5 separate regions of the Homo sapiens genome follow, and all the other regions are linked to region 4. Evidence: promoter capture Hi-C in 16 types of primary human blood cells and fetal thymus (Javierre and others, 2016). All regions are on one chromosome and are shown on one strand. The core of a region is centred on a gene start or on the middle of the fragment in contact, and the rest is flanking DNA. Distances in the headings are between cores, read along the strand shown. Region 1 overlaps CNNM2 (cyclin and CBS domain divalent metal cation transport mediator 2). Region 2 overlaps CNNM2 (cyclin and CBS domain divalent metal cation transport mediator 2). Region 3 overlaps CNNM2 (cyclin and CBS domain divalent metal cation transport mediator 2). Region 4 holds the start of PCGF6 (polycomb group ring finger 6). Region 5 overlaps AS3MT (arsenite methyltransferase).

The links. The method cuts DNA at HindIII sites, captures the fragments that hold promoters and counts their contacts. A CHiCAGO score of 5 or more calls a contact.
Region 1: a contact is called between a fragment that was not itself captured here and the fragment with the promoter of PCGF6 in region 4, in 1 of 17 cell types (endothelial precursors). The highest score is 5.5, in endothelial precursors.
Region 2: a fragment that was not itself captured here is called in contact with the fragment with the promoter of PCGF6 in region 4 in 1 of 17 cell types (endothelial precursors); the score reaches 6.1 in endothelial precursors.
Region 3: a fragment that was not itself captured here is called in contact with the fragment with the promoter of PCGF6 in region 4 in 1 of 17 cell types (endothelial precursors); the score reaches 5.2 in endothelial precursors.
Region 5: a contact is called between a fragment that was not itself captured here and the fragment with the promoter of PCGF6 in region 4, in 5 of 17 cell types (endothelial precursors, M0 macrophages, naive B cells and 2 more). The highest score is 7.2, in endothelial precursors.

Annotation. Positions count from the first base shown.
Region 1 is chr10:103,064,457-103,068,005 of GRCh38, forward strand. The region is part of intron 4 of CNNM2 (cyclin and CBS domain divalent metal cation transport mediator 2); the gene reads left to right. Among named protein-coding and RNA genes, the nearest start is that of NT5C2, 130 kb to the right of the region's middle. The HindIII fragment of the contact is 4,469 bases long and covers 1-3,549 here.
Region 2 is chr10:102,946,133-102,949,628 of GRCh38, forward strand. All of the region lies in intron 1 of CNNM2 (cyclin and CBS domain divalent metal cation transport mediator 2), which reads left to right. Among named protein-coding and RNA genes, the nearest start is that of CNNM2, 30 kb to the left of the region's middle. The HindIII fragment of the contact is 3,249 bases long and covers 514-3,496 here.
Region 3 is chr10:102,984,941-102,988,391 of GRCh38, forward strand. All of the region lies in intron 1 of CNNM2 (cyclin and CBS domain divalent metal cation transport mediator 2), which reads left to right. Among named protein-coding and RNA genes, the nearest start is that of CNNM2, 68 kb to the left of the region's middle. The HindIII fragment of the contact is 1,884 bases long and covers 490-2,373 here.
Region 4 is chr10:103,349,785-103,353,091 of GRCh38, forward strand. PCGF6 (polycomb group ring finger 6) reads right to left here and starts at 1,356. Exons shown (of 10, transcript NM_001011663.2): 1 at 923-1,356. The coding sequence starts at 1,282. RefSeq lists an enhancer at 584-1,089 and a silencer at 1,255-1,484. The HindIII fragment of the contact is 2,980 bases long and covers 1-1,856 here.
Region 5 is chr10:102,872,598-102,876,193 of GRCh38, forward strand. It overlaps AS3MT (arsenite methyltransferase), which reads left to right. Exons shown (of 11, transcript NM_020682.4): 4 at 1; 5 at 500-636; 6 at 1,995-2,064. It overlaps BORCS7-ASMT (BORCS7-ASMT readthrough (NMD candidate)), which reads left to right. Exons shown (of 15, transcript NR_037644.1): 8 at 1; 9 at 500-636; 10 at 1,995-2,064. Among named protein-coding and RNA genes, the nearest start is that of AS3MT, 4.9 kb to the left of the region's middle. The HindIII fragment of the contact is 685 bases long and covers 1,842-2,526 here.

The sequences.
Region 1 (3,549 bases), core at 559-3,058, 280 kb before region 4:
ACCTCAAGCAATCCTCCTGCCTCAGCCTCCCCAGTAACTGGGATTACAGGTGTGAGCTACTGTGCCTGGCAATAGTTGTGTTTTTTAAAATAAATACCTTTATTTTGCCCTGGCACGGTGGCTCATGCCTGTAATCCCAACACTTTGGGAGACTGAGGAGGGAGGATCAGCCAGGAGTTCAAGACCAGCCTGGGAAACATAGTGAGACCCCGTCTCTATAAAAAAATAGAAAAATTAGCTGGGCATGGTGGTGCACACCTGTAGTGCCAGCTACTCAGGAGGCTGAGTTACAAGTGTTGCTTGAGCTCAGGAGTTCAAGGCTGCAGGATTCTCACCACCGGTGCGGTGAGCCATGATTGCACCACTGCACTCCAGCCTGGGTGACAGAGTAAGACCCTGTCTGAAAAAATAAATTTTAAAACCATCTTTATGAAAAAAAAATTTGGCAACCCCGTATCTTTCCCTGTATCTGTCTCTGTAGAGGTGCGTCTTACTGGCCGTTAGGATGGAAATGTCTAGGAATCACTGAGCTTAGCATATCCACCCCGCAGCAGTGAATCTCAACTAGATGGAGTCCAGAGGGAAGATGGCAGATCCTCCCCTGCCTGGGATCCTGTCTGGAAGGACAGAGGAAGCATCAGCTGGAATGGCAGTGGTCTGGAGTTTTGAGTCTTGCAGCCGCCCTTGCTTAATCAGTTGACTCAGCTACACTGCCTTTGAGGGAGTCCCTTGAGAGGCCAGGGCACACAGTTTCCAGGGCTGGGGCCATTGTTCACAGACAGAGCCTTAAAGCAATGATTCCCAAAGTTTGTGGCTTGCTAGAATCACCCGGAAATCTTTTTAAATAAAATCCTGATGCCCAGATTCACCTATATTGTTAAATGAGAATGCCCGAGGGCCGGAGCCAGAGTCGGTAATCTGGGAATCTCTGCTTTGAGTGTGCAAGGCAGAGCTTCAGGCCTCAGAGTGGAACCACCGCACGCTTCCAAGAGACAGATGGTGTGAACCTATGGATTAAATAGAAAAAAAGATGTACAGTTTTCTGTTTTACAGTCTTGTTTTGGTTGTGCCTGCCCTACTAGTCCTGACAGTTTTATCTCCAAAGAATAGTGACCTGGCATCTGTCTGCAGGGACACAACACAAAAGGCCCTGTAACTTGTACAACAAATGCTCCAGATAACTGGAGACACCCAGGAACGGAAGTCACCATGAGGCTCCACTGCATTTGACTCTTCCTCCTGATTTCCTGCATGGAGGGTCAGGCTCAGAGCTGGTCACGCAGCCACTCTTGAGGTTACAAACTACAAAGCAGACATTTGCAGCCAGCACATACATGTCAGTTCAGGAAGAGATGGACACGGAATTGGGGAGACATGTACCGTGGCTACTCCTGTGTGTGTTGCTATCTCTGAACCTTGTTCCTCCCCTCCTCTTTGAAGGGACCCTACTTCAGGGACTTCCCCAGCACCCAGAGTCCTGAATTTTCAACAGCCTTCCCATGGCCCCACAGATGGGGATGTCCTGCTGCCTGTCCCTCTCCTGCCGGGGCCACTGTCCTCCCACTGATTCCTCTGTAGGGTAGGAAAGCCTCCTGCAGCCCCCAGCGGCCTGTGGTCAGTGATTGCTCCCGGCGGCCTTGAGCACCTTGAGGCCCTGACCGTCCTTGCCCCTGGAATTCTCCTGACCCCTGCTCTTCTGCCATGGTGCCGTGGTCTGGGCCTCCCTTTTCAGGCTCTGCCATGGTCCTGTTATGGTTTCAGTTTTCCCTGCTGCTCTCAGTCACGGGCTGAGCTTCGGTCCTTTTCCTGTCTCAGGTCCCCATCTCCAGCCCTGACCTCTCTCCAGACCTTCTTTCTCCCACTCGTGGTGTCCCTGTTCCTCAGCCCCTCCCAATGGGCCTCTGGTTCCTATACTCCTGTCTCCCTGATGGCTTCTTCGAATCATGCTGGTCCCTTATCAATAGCTTCTCTACCGCACTCCCTCCCCAGGCCTGTGGCTGCCACCCTCGTGGAAGCAGACTCTGTTCCTCCACCCAGGACCCAACCCTGCCAGCCCATTGCCTGGGGATCTGCTCACCCAGCTGCCTTCCAGATGTGCCCTCACTCCTCCCTGCAAACACAGAGCCTGGCCGGCCGCTGCCGCCACCCTGGGCCTCCCTCATGCTGTCCCTTTCTCTTGGTCATCCACAGCTTTTCCTTCCTGTATGCGATTTGTCTTTATATAAGAACAAGAAGTAAGATTTTTCTGGGAGCTTCTGTTCCCAATGTCTTTTTCCTCATGCTGAGCTCTTGTGTGCCATGTGGGCTGTTGCTTCTCATGTGCTCGCCTGTCCCTGCTGCATGGTCAGCCCGTGGGGGATGACGGCTGTCATCTCCGACTCCACAGTGTCATCTCTAGGGCCCTGCCTGTGTGGGGAAGGTTTGTAGCACCTGCCCATTTGCAGGTGGATTTTATATCATGGGTGGAGTTGTAAGTTTATACGGCAAGATAATTGGCTAGGGACTGGTGAACTGTCATTTCTGTTGAGCAGGAAAACCTGAGAGGCAGTAGTTCTTCTCCTGAAGCTATGGCCCAAGAAAGACCTTTTGTAATTGGAAACTTAATATAAAATGATAGTTTGCATCAGGTGGCATAGCATCTTTTTTTTTTTTTTTTCTTTGAGACAGGGTCTCATTCTGTGGCCTGGGCTGGAGTGCAGTGGCGTGATCATGGCTCACTGCCTCACAGGTTCAAGTAATCCTCCCAAGTAGCTGAGACTACAGGTGCACGCCACCATGCCTGGCTAATTTTTGTAGAGATGGGGTCTTGCTGTGTTGCCCAGGCTGATCTTGAACTCCTGGGCTCAAGCAATTTGCCTGCCTCGGTCTCCCAAAGTGCTGAGGTTACAGGTATGAGCCACTGCTCCCAGCCTCCTAGCATCCTGATGAAGAGCTTGTTCTTTACTAAATCTTGCTGATCCCCCCTCCCCTGATTTGTAGGAGGGCAATGATTTGTCTGCTGCATCGAGTTGTGCACATTAAATGAATTCATAAAACACTGATGTGTTAGCACAATTCCTTTTCAATACATGGCATCTTAATTTTTGTTCACCCATTGTAAAGGATGCCTCACACAGTTGTAGTAATGGGAACAAGAGCATTTCTGACCCTTGGCCTGAGAAACTAGAAGTGAAACTGACTTAGAGCATTTCAGTAGCCCAGAAAACACAATGAGCACCTACCATGCAGGGATTATAGTGGACCCTGGGGTTCCAGGGATGAATAAGACACTCTATCCCAAAAGAACTCATCAAGGTAAAGAAGAAGTTGTCGACAAGTTAGCGAAAGTGAAGAAAAGGGAAAATCTTAGGGGGAGGAGAGGGGAACTTTATTTTAATGGAAGGAGACTTTCTTCAAACTGCTTTTCCAAGACAGGAGAAAAATCCCATGGAATTTAAGTGCCTCCAGGAGTGTAGACAGCAAGTTACCAGCCTGCGAGGGGTCTGCTCAGTGGTCAGGACACCGTGCTCGTGAGACAGAGTGGGTTCTACCCAGGTTATTCCTCTCTGT
Region 2 (3,496 bases), core at 888-3,387, 400 kb before region 4:
TAAAAAGACAGAATGAGTTCATTGGTGCTGCAGGGAATGTTACAAAGTGCTTTAGCAATGGGAAGATGAAGGTGTTCTTAGGGCAGTCTCAAAGGAGGCCAGAGGCTGGGGGAGGGTCAGAACATTTTAGTTGCAGGGACCAATACTGGGAAAGGCACAGAGGCAGAAAGGTTGTGTTTGGGAGAATTGTGAGCAGTTGATTTGACTGGCTCTTAGGATTCTTTGCCCTACATTTAATGTACATATTGATTATTCTTGTGATATATTGATTGTTGTCCGGAATCTTTTCCATTTTGCTTTTAGGGATACCTAAAAGCAATTAGTGATACTAATTGAACTTGTATATTGACAGAAAAGTCTCTCACGGGGGTAATTTCTATCATGCAGGACTTTTTTAAAGCACTTGTGCTAGCTGTTGTTTGAATCAAAGTATTGTTTTTTTAAAGATCTATTCTTCCCTGCTTGTGCAACTCCTTTGAGCCCAAATTCTTCACTCCTAGGTTAAACAGGGTAAGCTTCAGGGGAAGTACATTAATAATTGAACACCCGTGAGGTGTTACTGCTTCTGTTCTGCACTTTTAGTGTTTTCTGTAGCCTGAAAGAGTTACTTCACTATTTTGATTTGCAACCGGGATAGAACTTGAAGCACCGTTAAGAAAGGATTGGAGACTTTGTCATGGTACTTATTTTCCAGATGTTTACTTTTTAAATAAGGAAAAACTACAACATGTTAATAACCAACTTGGAAAAAACAATATTGTGATCTGAGAAAGAACAAAACACATGCCATACTTAATATGTTAGTATCCATTTTTTCCCCTTCAAATACAATTCTGCATGTATCTGAGTAGCTCTTCACCAAATGCCAGAACTTTTTACTCAGAGTAAATGTTGATGAGATAGGACATGTGAACCATTGAAGAACTGATTTTTTTTCTCATAAATACTAACTTACTCTGAACTAGTTTATAGTTACTAACCCCACTGCCATAAATTCTCCAGTCATATGTTTTGTAATCCCTTCCCTGGCATACATTTTAATCATTTTCCTACTGCTTCATAGGTACTATAATCCTTTTATAGTTCCCTGGGTTTTAAAATAACCCTATAAAGGGTTCAGTTTTATATTTAATAGTCATGTTTCACACTGTTCTAAAGCTGTGAATAAGTTCAGGCAAGCAGAAGTTTCTAATTTGAAACGACTTTGTTTCTGTTTTAGAAAGATGTATGCGTCTTCTAGTGTTTTTCATTGTGATGATGTTATATATTGGCTAGAATTTTAAAAATATTTGGAAATACTTATAAAGTGAAGAAAAATGAAGAAAAAAAACCACTGACTGCTGAGCACAGTGGCTCGCGCCTGTAATTCCAACACTTTGGGAGGCCGAGGTGGGCAGATCACATGAGGTCAGGAGTTTGAGATTAGCCTGGCCAATGGTGAAACCCTGTCTCTACTAAAAATACAAAAATTAGCTGGGCGTAGTGGTGCACGCCTGTAATCCCAGCTACTTGGGAGGCTGAGGCAGGAGAATCACTTGAGTCTGGGAGATGGAGGTTGCAGTGAGCTGAGTTTGCGCCACTGCACTCCATCCAGCCTGGTTGACAGACTGAGACTCTGTCTCAAAAACAAACAAACAGGCCAGGCGCGGTGGCTCATGCCTGTAATCCTAGCACTTTGGGAGGCCAAGGCGGGCAAATCACGAGGTCAGGAGATCGAGACCATCTGGCTAACACGGTGAAACCCTGTCTTTACTAAAAATACAAAAAAAAATTAGCCGGGCGTGGTGGCAGGCACCTGTAGTCCCAGCTACTCAGGAGGCTGGGGCAGGAGAATGGCGTGAACCCGGGAGGTGGAGCTTGCAGTGAGCCGAGATTGCACCACTACACTCCAGCCTGGGGATAGAGCGAGACTCCCTCTCAAAAAACAAAAAAACAAACACAAACAAAAACCCCACACAGGTAAAAACATTCATCTTGTAATTTTCTATTATCAGGTTTCAAAAGATCACTTCTTTCTTGAAACATACATTGTATGTCTTTTGGTGAACAAGATTGTTGTTGTCTTCCTGGTGCTGACAGTTTGGTGGGGGAGATAGACATGAAGCAAATCATCACACGAATAAACTCATCTGCATGTGCTGTGGGGGAGAAGTACTTAGTGCCCTGAGAATATTGGCAGGTGGGACGGGAGGGAAGAAAGTAGCTTTTGGGTGACTTGAGATCTGACAGATAAGTAGGCGTCAACTAGAGGAAATTTGGGTGTGGAAAAGAGACTATTGCAGGGAGACATGATAAGGTGGGAGGTAACATTGTACACTCAAGGAGCTGAAAGATGATTAGTGTGGCTGGAACACAAATAATTTGTGTGTGTGCATGTTGAGGGGTAGGTTGGGTGGTACAAGATGCTATTGGCGAAGTCAGCAGAAGCAAGCAGGGACTCCAGCAGGCAGACCTTGCAGGCCACACTAAGGGTTCCAGGATTTCTTCTAAGAGCAACAATATGTCCTTGAAGTATTGGGGGTACATGAGCATGACATTATTAGAGTTGCATTTTCAAAAGGTCTTCTGTGTGGAAAATCTTTTGATGAGGAGAGAGAAAAGATGTGGAGAGACAGAGACTGGCATTTGGAGGCCTTTGCAGAAGTCTGGTAAGAAATGATGACAGCTGGGTGGTTGGGATGGGGAGAGGATGATTGATTTGAAGATGCCAAAAAGGACAAGGCTTTACCAACCCCCCTTTCAATGATAGAGAGAGAGAGGCAAAATATAGATATTATCTTCATAACCGGGGCCCGAAAAGTCAAAGATCATGCAGTTAGTAAGCAGAAGTAGACCTGGCACTGGAAGCTGTCTGACCTCACATACGCTGCTCTCTTTTATGGCACTCTGCCTTTTTAGGAGAGAACCTTGAGTTTGGAGAACTTAGGTATTCTCTGACTGACACAGCACCAACTACAGTGTCCAGCTCTTGTGCATTAAAGCTAAATTTAGGCAATGGACTCATATCTGACAATGAGCATTGCTTTGTCAGGTTCACTAGATACCATTTATTTATTTATTTGAGGTGGAGTCTTGCTGTGTTGCCCAGGCTGGAGTGCAGTGGTGTGATCTCGGCTCACCGCAACCTCCGCCTCCCCGATTCAAGCAATTCTCCTGCCTCAGCCTCCTGAGGAGCTGGGATTACAGGCACATGCCACCACGCCTGGCTAATTTTGTATTTTTAGTAGAGAAGGGGTTTCTCCATGTTGGTCAGGCTGATCTTGAACTCCCGACCTCAGGTAATCCGCCTGCCTCAGCCTCCCAAAGTGCTGGGATTACAGGCATGAGCCACCACACCTGGCGGTAGTAGTGATTTAAATGGTATCTAGTGGCCGGGCACAGTGGCTCATGCCTGTAATTCTAGCACTTTGGGAGGCCGAGACAGGCAGATCACTTGAGGTCAGAAGTTCGAGACCAGCCTGGCCAATATGGAGAAACCCCATCTCTACTGAGAAAA
Region 3 (3,451 bases), core at 182-2,681, 360 kb before region 4:
CGGGCTTTACTCTTATTTTAAATGTCAGTTTGTTAAGGACAGAAAAAAAGACTGAATTTTGCTAATATTTTCTACACTTGATCTTAGCCAAAAGGCCGAGAAGCGATGAATTTTGCTAATATTTTCTAACATGAAAAGGAAATAACGAAGGGAAAGTCTTTTTTTTCTTTTTAACTTTCTGCAGCAGTTGGGCAAAATTCCTGCTTTGTGTAGGAAACCCTGGCAGACCTTGAGAATTCTAAATTGCTGCAGATTGTTTTATCTTTTTTTTCTAAAACAATTTGAATAGCGGATCCTTTCCATCTGAAACAAGTTTTTCCCCTTCTCACCCTCTTGTTTCATGTAATTAGCAGTCCTCCTCTGTATATTCCTATTTTGTCTGATATAGCCAAAATTCTTTAAAAAGAATTTTAAAATTTTAAAATTCTGCTGTGAGTCCGGCAAAGGGGCTGAGAGAATTTCTGTGTCAACATCATTGAGAACTCTGAAAGCTTCTTTACATACCAAGCTCCTCCTCATCAAAGCTAGATACAGGAAGTGTTTATGGTCCCTTTCTTCCAAGGGAATGGCTCTAAACTAACCAGCAGACCCTGTCTCACTTATGTTCTCCTTCAGGTTCTTCCTTGACATCCTACTGGCTACTCTTAGTCATGTTCTTTCTAGCCATCAAGTCTCCAAACTGCGTGGCCAGACAACTTGAGTTACCTGGGAAGTTCCTAGGGGCTAGATAAGTACTTTATGCCTTATTCTACAGCAGAATATTTGTTTTGTTTACATGACCAGCTCAGATTGATAGAATAGCTGTCTTTTAGCAACAGTGTAATCATTTAATGACAGCTGTTCAAGGGACTAGTAAAAGGATTGGGAAAGGGGGGCCTTCTAAACAAAGTGAATGGGCCCTGCCAACTGAGGAGTGATGTCTCCTAAATGGTTGGCATGTTCAGACTTCAGAGTATTATCCATCAGCTTGGAGACCCACAAGTTTTTTAAATATCTAGTGTTATCTGTTTACCTGTTAGCTTGGTGCCAAAGTGATTGCACCTTACCTCCAGACCATGTCTGTGCTTGCCCTGATGTACCTGTCATGTTCAGTACCTGTTTTGGTTTATAGGGCTTGGACTAGCTCCGATGTTCACTTGCCCTGTTTTACTTAGAGAAAGTCATCATGTGACTAAATTTTAAGATTACAAAGATAATGCATGTGATTTAGACTTGAGTGTGTAAAAGGCTTAGGGTAGTGCTCACTCTACAACTAGATATTTGACAATCTAAGCCTAGATTATAACTGAAATATAATTGTGTGATCTTGTCCTTACTTCTATCTTATTTTTTTGAGGCGGTCTCACTCTGTCACCCAGGCTGGAGTGCAGTGGTGTGATCTCGGCTCACTGCAACCTCTGCCTCCCGGGTTCAAGTGATTCTCCCGAGTATGGGTGGTGATGGACCATTTGTAAAGCCTCAGAAGCCAAACTGGAATTAATGTGAAAGTTATAGGGAAGTTAGTTTCAGCTTAATCAAAGTAGAATTTCCAAAAAGTAGAGCCATTTGAAAATGTCCTGTGGCTGGGCGCGGTGGCTCACGCCTGTAATACCAGTACTTTGGGAGGCCGAGGTGGGCGGATCACGAGGTCAAGAGATTGAGACCATCCTGGCTAACACGATGAAACCATGTCTCTACTTAAAAAAAAAAGTCAGCTGGGCATGGTGGCAGGTACCTGTAGTCCCAGCTACTTGGGAGGCTGAGGCAGGAGAATGCTGTGAACCTGGGAGGCGGAGCTTGCAGTGACCCGAGATTGCGCCACTGCACTCCAGCCGGGGTGACAGTGCAAGACTCAGTCTCAAAAAAAAAAAAAAAAAGTTTTTATCCTCCAGATCGTAGAATTATATTACTAGAGGTGGTGATTCAGCAGAAGCTGGATAAGCAATAATAGGGATTTTGTGTAAGTGTTGACATATGGGTAGGGTGGGCTAGGTGATTTGCTAATAGTGAGATATTTTGATTCAAGTATAAATTTCAGTAGTTGCAGATGAACACAGAAGGAACAAGCACAGATTTCTGCTGATGGTTAGTAAGACAACATTGCCAAGGGAGGGTGTCCCCAGAAGAGCAGAAAACCTAATATGAAAGCTCAAATTTAAAAGATGGAAGCAGGAAGTAAACTGCTGAAGGAGAATGTTCAGAGGAAGAAAACCAGAGGGTTTAGGGTACAAAGGCTGAGGGTGGAGAGTTTGAAGGAAGAAGAAGAAATTAGAGAACCATAAAGAAAATGATATATTCTAAAGCGGTAGTCCTCAAGGTAAATTGCATGTAGCTGTGCCTTGGGATGCAGTAGGACTTACATATATATATATGAATGAATATGCATATACATTAAGCTTATTATTATTATTATTATTTTGAGACGGAGTCTCGCTCTGTCACCCAGACTGGAGTGCAGTGGCGTGATCTCGGCTCACTGCAAGCTCCGCCTCCCAGGTTCACGCCATTCTCCTGCCCCAGCCTCCTGAGTAGCTGGGACCACAGGTGCCCACCACCACGCCTGGCTAATTTTTTTGTATTTTTAGTAGAGGTGGGGTTTCACCATGTTGGCGAGGATGGTCTCGAACTGCTGACCTCGTGATCTGCCCGCCTCGGCCTCCCAAAGTGCTGGGATTACAGGCTTGAGCCACTGCGCCCGGCCAAGCTTATTTTTATATGGATTTCATGATGTATATATTTTGTAATATATATAATTTATAAGTAAATATAAATTAGGGAGGTGTACTCAACATTTTCATAGAATACATAGTCAAAAATGGTTTGCAACCTCTGCTCTAACAAAAATAAAACACCCTACATCTTTGGTTCAAGATTGTCACCCCCAACAGTTGTGTGAAATGTGGGGCAGGAATTATCACTATTTTCCTTTGGAAATTAAGGTTCCAAAGATAATGAGACCAGAGCCAAAGGTCAGAGTCCACTGTCTTCTCTCTGAGGCCTCAATGTGAAGACCTGAACTGTGGCAGCAGATAATTCTGGAGACCTGTTAATCAGCTGTATGCACCACGCTACTTAATTGATTTAGAAATATTGAAAAGGCCGGGCATGGTGGCTCATGCCTGTAATCCCAGCACTTTGGGAGGCCGAGGCGGGTGGATCACCTGAGGTCAGGAGTTTGAGACCAGCCTCGGTAACCTGGTGAAACCCCGTCTCTATTAAAAATACAAAAAAACTTAGCCGGGAGTGGTGGTGGGCGCCTGTAATCCCAGCTACTTGGGAGGCTGAGGCAGGAGAATCACTTGAACCTGGGAGGCGGAGGTTGCAGTGAGCCGGGATTGCACCTAGTGCATTCCAGCCTGGGCAACAGAGCGAGGCTGTTTCAAAAAAATAATAATAGAAATATTGAAAAGGCGTGGGACAAAGATAGGGTCTCAAGACCCTTACTGTAGTCAGGGGTGTTAATACGTTTTAG
Region 4 (3,307 bases), core at 106-2,605:
TTCAAAAGGATCTTTACGCTGGGCGCAGTGGCTCACGCCTGTAATCCCAGCACTTTGGGAGGCCGAGGCGGGCGGATCACGAGGTCAGGAGATCGAGACCATCCTGGCTAACACGGTGAAACCCCGTCTCTACTAAAAATACAAAAAATAAGCCGGGCGTGGTGGCGGGCGCCTTGTAGTCCCAGCTACTCTAAAGGCTGAGGCTGGAGAATCGCTTGAACCTGGGAGGCGGAGGTTGCAGTGAGCCGAGATCGCGCCACTGCACTCCAGCCTGGGCGACAGAGCGAGACTCCGTCTCAAAAACAAAACAAAACAAAACAAAACAAAAGGATCTTTACTGCCTAGTAAGCAGTAGCTTCAATAATTATACAGGACAGGCAACGTGGCTCACGCATGTAATCTTTCGGAAGGCCAGAGAGGGAGAATCTCTTGAACCCAGGAGTTCGAGAACAGCCTGGGAACATAGGGAGCCCTCCTCGCTACAAAAAAAAAAAAAAATGTTTAATTAGCCCGGCGTGGTGGCGCGTGCCTGTAGTCCCAGCTACTCCGGAGGCTGAGGCGGGAGGATCGCCTGAGGCCAGGAGTTGGAGGCTGCAGTGAGCCATGGTCGCGCCACTGCACTCCAGCCTGGGAGACCCTGTCTCAAAATAATTATAATTATTAACAGAACGAATGAGTTGGACTCGCAGAGCCTAAGTGACCTGCAAGAACTTCACAAAATAAGCGGGTAAAGACCCAGGCCGGGCCGGAGGCCTGTCGGCGCCACACGCCTAGGCAGCCGGGGCAGAGGTCGGGGGAGGTCCGCTCCAGTGCTCCGCGCGGCGGCGGCGCACTAGGATCGGGCCGGCGCCCGGCAGACGAGGGCCAGCTACGTCCCTGACGCCGCTTGGGCCCAGCGGGGTCGCGCGGGGGCTCTAAATACCTCCTCCTCGTCCTCCGAGTCCTGCCGGCCTCCCTCCAGCCTCAACGAGAAGTGACTCATGTCCTCCTCCTCCTCCTCTTCTTCCTCCTCCAGCTCCTCTTCTTCTTCCAACTCCTCGTCCTCGTCCTCGAAGCGGCCTCTGAAGCGGCCCAGGCTGCGCTCCGGCTCCAGCTCAGGGGGCCGGGAGCCGGAGCAGCCGGGAGCCCCCGTCTCAGACAGAGGCGCCGGTCCCTCCTCACCCGCTGCGGGTGCAGGGGTGAGGGCGGGCGGGGAGACAGGAGGCGGAGGCGGCAAGGCTGCAGCTCCCTCGGTTTTGGCAGCGCCTACGCTGCCCGCCGTCACCACCGCGACCCCCTCCATGGTCGGGAGAGACACCAGGCGAGGCGAGGCGGCGGGAGAGCGCGGGAGTTCGGCCGGCCTCGGACGCCACCACTGCGCAGGCGCGGCAGCCTGAGGGGCTCGCCGGGAAATGTGGTTTAGCGGCCCTCACCTCCGCGGGGCGCAAACCCTGCAGCTCCGGGGCAGGCTGCGGGGCGCGCGGGCCGCACTTTAAAGGAATCTCACCAGATTTTCTCCTTGGAAGGGGACGCTCTCTTCGCCGCCTTTTAAAAACAGCAAAATTGCTACCGTTCCAAGCAACAATATTCTGTTTGCATCACCTAATTCACAGAGCACTGAACTAGGTAGCATGTGACGTTGCATCACAAATAATAATCATTTCCACTTGAGTACCAATTATGCATTTCCTCTGTGGCAAATCACCTCCATCCAAGATTATTTCCCTTAGGAAGTATAAAGTTCCTGTTCTGAAGTATGTACGTTTATTTATTTTAAGGAATTATATAGTGTATTGATACAAGGTGAAAATCTAATCACTACTCAAAGATCATCCATGTCACCCCATCCCATAAAGCCCATTATATTGAATTCGAAAAGCTTTTTTTTTTTTTTTTTGAGACAGTTTCGCTCTTGTCGCTCAGGCAGGAGTGCAGTGGCGCTCACTTGCAACCTCCGCCTCCCGGGTCCAAGCGATTCTGCCTCAGGCTCCCAAGCAGCTGGGACTACTGGCGCCTGCCACCACGCCCAGCTAACTTTTGTATTTTCAGTAGAGACAGGGTTTCACCATGTTGACCAGGCTAGTCTCAAACTTCTGATCTCAGGTGATCCACCCGCCTCAGCCTCCCAAAGTGTTGGGTTACAGGCCTGAGCCAGGGCGCCGGGCCCAACAAACATTTATTGAGGGCCTACTGTAGCAGAAACTCAGACCCACCCAGGTACAACCCACCCCATTGCCCAATTTTATTAAGAGAGGTTTGGAGTTGGCTTAACATTATTCTTGCTAGTCCGGGCGCGGTGGCTCACACCTGTAATCCCAGCACTTTGGGAGGCCGAGGCGCGCAGATCATGAGGTCAGGAGTTCAAGACCAGCCTAGCCAACATGGTGAAACCCCGTCTCTACTAAAAATACAAAAATTAGCTGGGCATGGTGGCGCGTGCCTGTAATCCCAGCTACTTGGGAGGCTAAGGCAGAAGAATCACTTGAGCCCAGGAGGCGGAGCTTGCAGTGAGCTAAGATCGTGCCACTGCACTCCAGCCTGGGCTACAGAGTGAGACTCCATCTCAAAACAAAACAAAACAAAACAAAACAAAACAAAAAACAAAAAAACCATTATCCTTGCTAAGATAATGCCAGCTAATGTCACGATGCCTGCAAGAAAGATTCGGGAAGTCAAATGCTCCTAATCAAATAATGCCTGGCAAAGTCACATTTAAGAGCTGAATGTGACCAGGCACAGTGGCTCCCGCCTGTAATCCCAGCACTTTGGGAGGCTGAGGCAAGCGGATTGCCTGAGGTTGGGAGTTAGAGACCAGCCTGACCAACATGGAGAAACCCCATCTCTACTAAAAATACAAAATTAGCCGGGCATGGTGGCGCATGCCTGTAATCCCAGCTACTCGAGAGGCTGAGGCAGGAGAATCACTTGAACACAGACGAGGTGGAGGTTGCGGTGAGCCGAGATCACACCACTGCACTCCAGCCTGGGCAACAAGAGCAAGACTCCATCTCAAAAAAAAAATAAATTTTAAAAATATGGCCAAGCGAGGTGGCTCATGCCTGTAATCCCAATGCTTTGGGAGGCTGAGTTGGGCGGGTAACGAGGTCAGGAGTTTGAGACCAGCCTGACCAACATGGTGAAACTCCATCTCTACTAAAAATACGAAAATTAGCCGGGCATGGTGGTGCACACTTGTAATCCCAGCTACTCAGGAGGCTGAGGCAGGAGAATCACTTGAACCCGGGAGGCGAAGGTTGCAGTGAGCCGAGATCGCACCACTGCACCCCAGCCTGGGCGACAGAGTGAGACTCCGTCTCAAAAAATTAAA
Region 5 (3,596 bases), core at 934-3,433, 480 kb before region 4:
GGTGAGGCATGATTTGGAAGACAAGGAGAAAAAGATTCTCAAAAGCATTATTTGAAAAATAAAGTTGTTTTCTTCGTGGCTCTTCAAGGATAATTTAAGAAAGCTTCTAGTTAGCAATGCTCATTTGTGCCACTAGTGCTTCCTGTCTTGGAAACTGATAACTTGAACAATTAGGGGTTCTTCTGGGCGAACACAAGAGTCGGAGGTTTGCTCTGATATGAATATCGTGACGATAGAGTGGACTTTGATCTTTCCCTTCTTGCTGCCATCTATCCTGAAAGATTTTGTTATTGAATGAGGAGTTTATTCAAGCCAAACTGCACGGGCAGCAGGGAGTTTATGTCCCAGGTTGTAGTATATCCTACGTGTCCACAGGAATCTTGTATGTTTATCCAAAATAATCTAGGGGAAGTATATTCTGTTAGTGATAGGAAATTTTTAGGAAAAAGTTGTGTATTTTTTTCAAAATGTTATCAAAACTATATTTTTCTTACTTTAGGTGGAAGTGGCTGAAAAGTATCTTGACTATCACATGGAAAAATATGGCTTCCAGGCATCTAATGTGACTTTTATTCATGGCTACATTGAGAAGTTGGGAGAGGCTGGAATCAAGAATGAGAGCCATGATATTGTTGTGTAGGTCTATATTCTTACTGTTATGACTATAGCCCATTTTCTTTATTATTATTATTATTATTATTGAGATGGACTCTCGCTCTGTCACCCAGGCCAGAGTGCAGTGGCCCAATGTCAGCTCACGATAACCTCTGCCTCCCGGGTTCAACTGATTCTCTTGCCTCAGCCTCTCAAGTAGCTGGGATTATAGGCACACGCTACCACATCCAGCTAATTTTTTAAATCTTCTTTTAGTAGAGACAGGGTTTCACCATGTTGGCCAGGCTGGTCTCAAACTCCTGATCTCAGGTGATCCACCCGCTTCCACCTCCCAAAGTGCTGGGATTACAGGTGTGAGGCACTGTGCTCAGCCCTCATTTCCTTTTGAACACAGAGATGTCACTATTACTGTTTGCTGAATTGACTCTCATTTAGGGTGTTAAACTAAACTTAGCATGGCTTACTAATGGGAGAGAGCTGGTTTGAGCTGCTGGAGCTCACCAGCAGCAGAACACACCAGACCAAGAGGGAACTTACTTGAAACTTAACCACAAACCAATGAACCCAAAAGACCAGCAGGACCACTAAGTTTGCTCCTACAATACATGCTGACCTGTATCTTTCATAATATTTTCATGGTAAATTATAGGATTCTATTTCCTTTTTTCCCTCAAGTTGTTATTGTCAAATCATGCCCAAGTGACAGCTGCCTTTGAGGAACATAGCCTGTTTACGTGAAGCATAAGAAATGCCTTGTGCCGGCCAGGTGCGGTGGCTCACGCCTATAATCCCAGCATTTTGGGAGGCCGAGGCAGGTGGATCACGAGGTCAGGAATTCCAGACCAGCTTGAACAACATGGCGAAACCCCGTCTCTACTAAAAATACAAAAATTAGCTGGGTGTGGTGGCACATGCCTGTAATCCCAGCTATTTAGGAGGCTGAGGCAGGAGAATCACTTGAACCCGGGAGGCGGAGGTTGCAATGAGCCGAGATTGCGCCATTGTACTCCAGCCTGGGCAACAGGAGTGAAACATCCTCTCGGGAAAAAAAAAAAAAGAAAGAAATGCCTTGTGCAGTAGGCATCTGGTCTGAGGTTTCATCTTGTTACATGGTGAACATCAGGACAGAAACAAGTAAGAATCATGCCTGATGTTATTTTCTGCACATTCAAACTTGCTAACAATTTATTGAGATTTTAAGCACTCTGTCTCTGATCTTGGGGAAAAGCTTAGTTGAAGGCATTAGAAAGAGAGGAGGGAGGCGGTAAGAATGGGGTAGCTTTGACAGAACGGTGGGAACCACCTTTAGGGTCTGAAAGGATTTGCAGATCTCTGAGTGTTGTGAAGATTTGCTCGACATTTCATCTGTTCTCTTTTAGATCAAACTGTGTTATTAACCTTGTGCCTGATAAACAACAAGTGCTTCAGGAGGCATATCGGGTGCTGAAGGTGAGGAGGAGAGTGAGATAAATTATCTTTGAACATCAGTAAGAGCTGATGGGTTAAGTCTTGTTTGTTCCCCCTTGAACTAAGAGCTCAAACTCTCTTAATTTATCCATTAAATGAATAAGGGGTGGCAAAAGGGGGAAGGGGCAGGAATACCCCGGATATGGATTACTTTCCCTCTTAGGTTGCAAAAGGTAGTAAATCCGAGGTGACAGTTGTCACTGAATGTGTTAAGGTATTTGCTTTCTTGACTGTCTCTCCTATTTGCTGCTGTACATGATCCTAGAAGAGCATCTGTGGAGCTATAGGAATCTTTGCACTGACTACTAATGATTGCTTTGAATATACTCTCTTCTAGCATGTACAGTGTTTCTCAGGGCTTCTGATTTCTTATCTGTCATGATTTCAGATCTTTGGGAAGTTACAGAAGATGGAACTTTTACATTAACTACTTGCTAAAAGGAAAGCTTGCAGGAGCTCCACAGCCTTCATTGTATCATGAGATGTGTATCTTCATGATAGTAGATGAAATATTCAGCCAGGTGCGGTAGCTCACACCTGTAATCCCAGTGCTGTGGGAGGCCGAGGCGGGCAGATCACCTGAGGTCAGGAGTTTGAGACCAGCTTGGCCAACATGGAGAAACTCTGTCTCTACTAAAAATACAAAAATTAGCTGGGTGTGGTGGTGCGTGCCTGTAATCCCAGCTCCTCGGGAGGCTGAGGTAGGAGAATAGCTTGAACCCAGAAGTCAGAGGTTGCAGTGAGCCAGGATCGTGCCACTGCACTCCAGCCTGGGAGACAGAGCGAGACTCCATCTCAAAAAAAAAAAAAAAAAAAAAAGATTCTAGCTGGGTGGGTGGTACATGCCTGTACTCCCAGCTACTTGGATGCTGAGGCAAGAGGATTGCTTGAGCTCTGGAGTTTGTGTGCAGCTTGGGCAATATAGTGTGATCACTGCCTCTAAAAAAATGTTTTTTTTTTTGAGATGGAGTCTCACTCTGCTGTCCAGGCTGTAGTGCAGTGGCAGGATTTCATCTCACTGCAACCTCCGCCTCCTGGGTTCAAACAATTCTTTTGCCTCAGCCTCCCTAGTAGCTGGGACTACAGGCGTGTGCCACCATGCCCAGCTAATTTTTGTACTTTTAGTAGAGACAAGATTTCACCATATTGGTCAGGCTGATCTTGAACTCCTGATCTCATGATCTGCCTCAGCCTCCCAAAGTGCTGGGATTACAGGCATGAGCCGCTGTGCCTGGCCAAAATTTTTTTTTAAATTGACAACAGATTTTTGAGATTTTTGGTTTACAAAGCTGTCATAGAACTCAAATACAAATATCTATATAGAAATGATTTAATGATTTAGTGATGTCTTTGTTAGTATGTCATTTTACACGCCAGTTCACTATCTCCACCAAAAATGTACTTATAAAAGGTAGAAACACTATTATAGAATCTAGATCTCCAGGTTTCCAGGTTTTTGAAATTAGCTAAATAAAATGTTAAGTTCCTGATCACTCATTTGCCTTACATTTTAA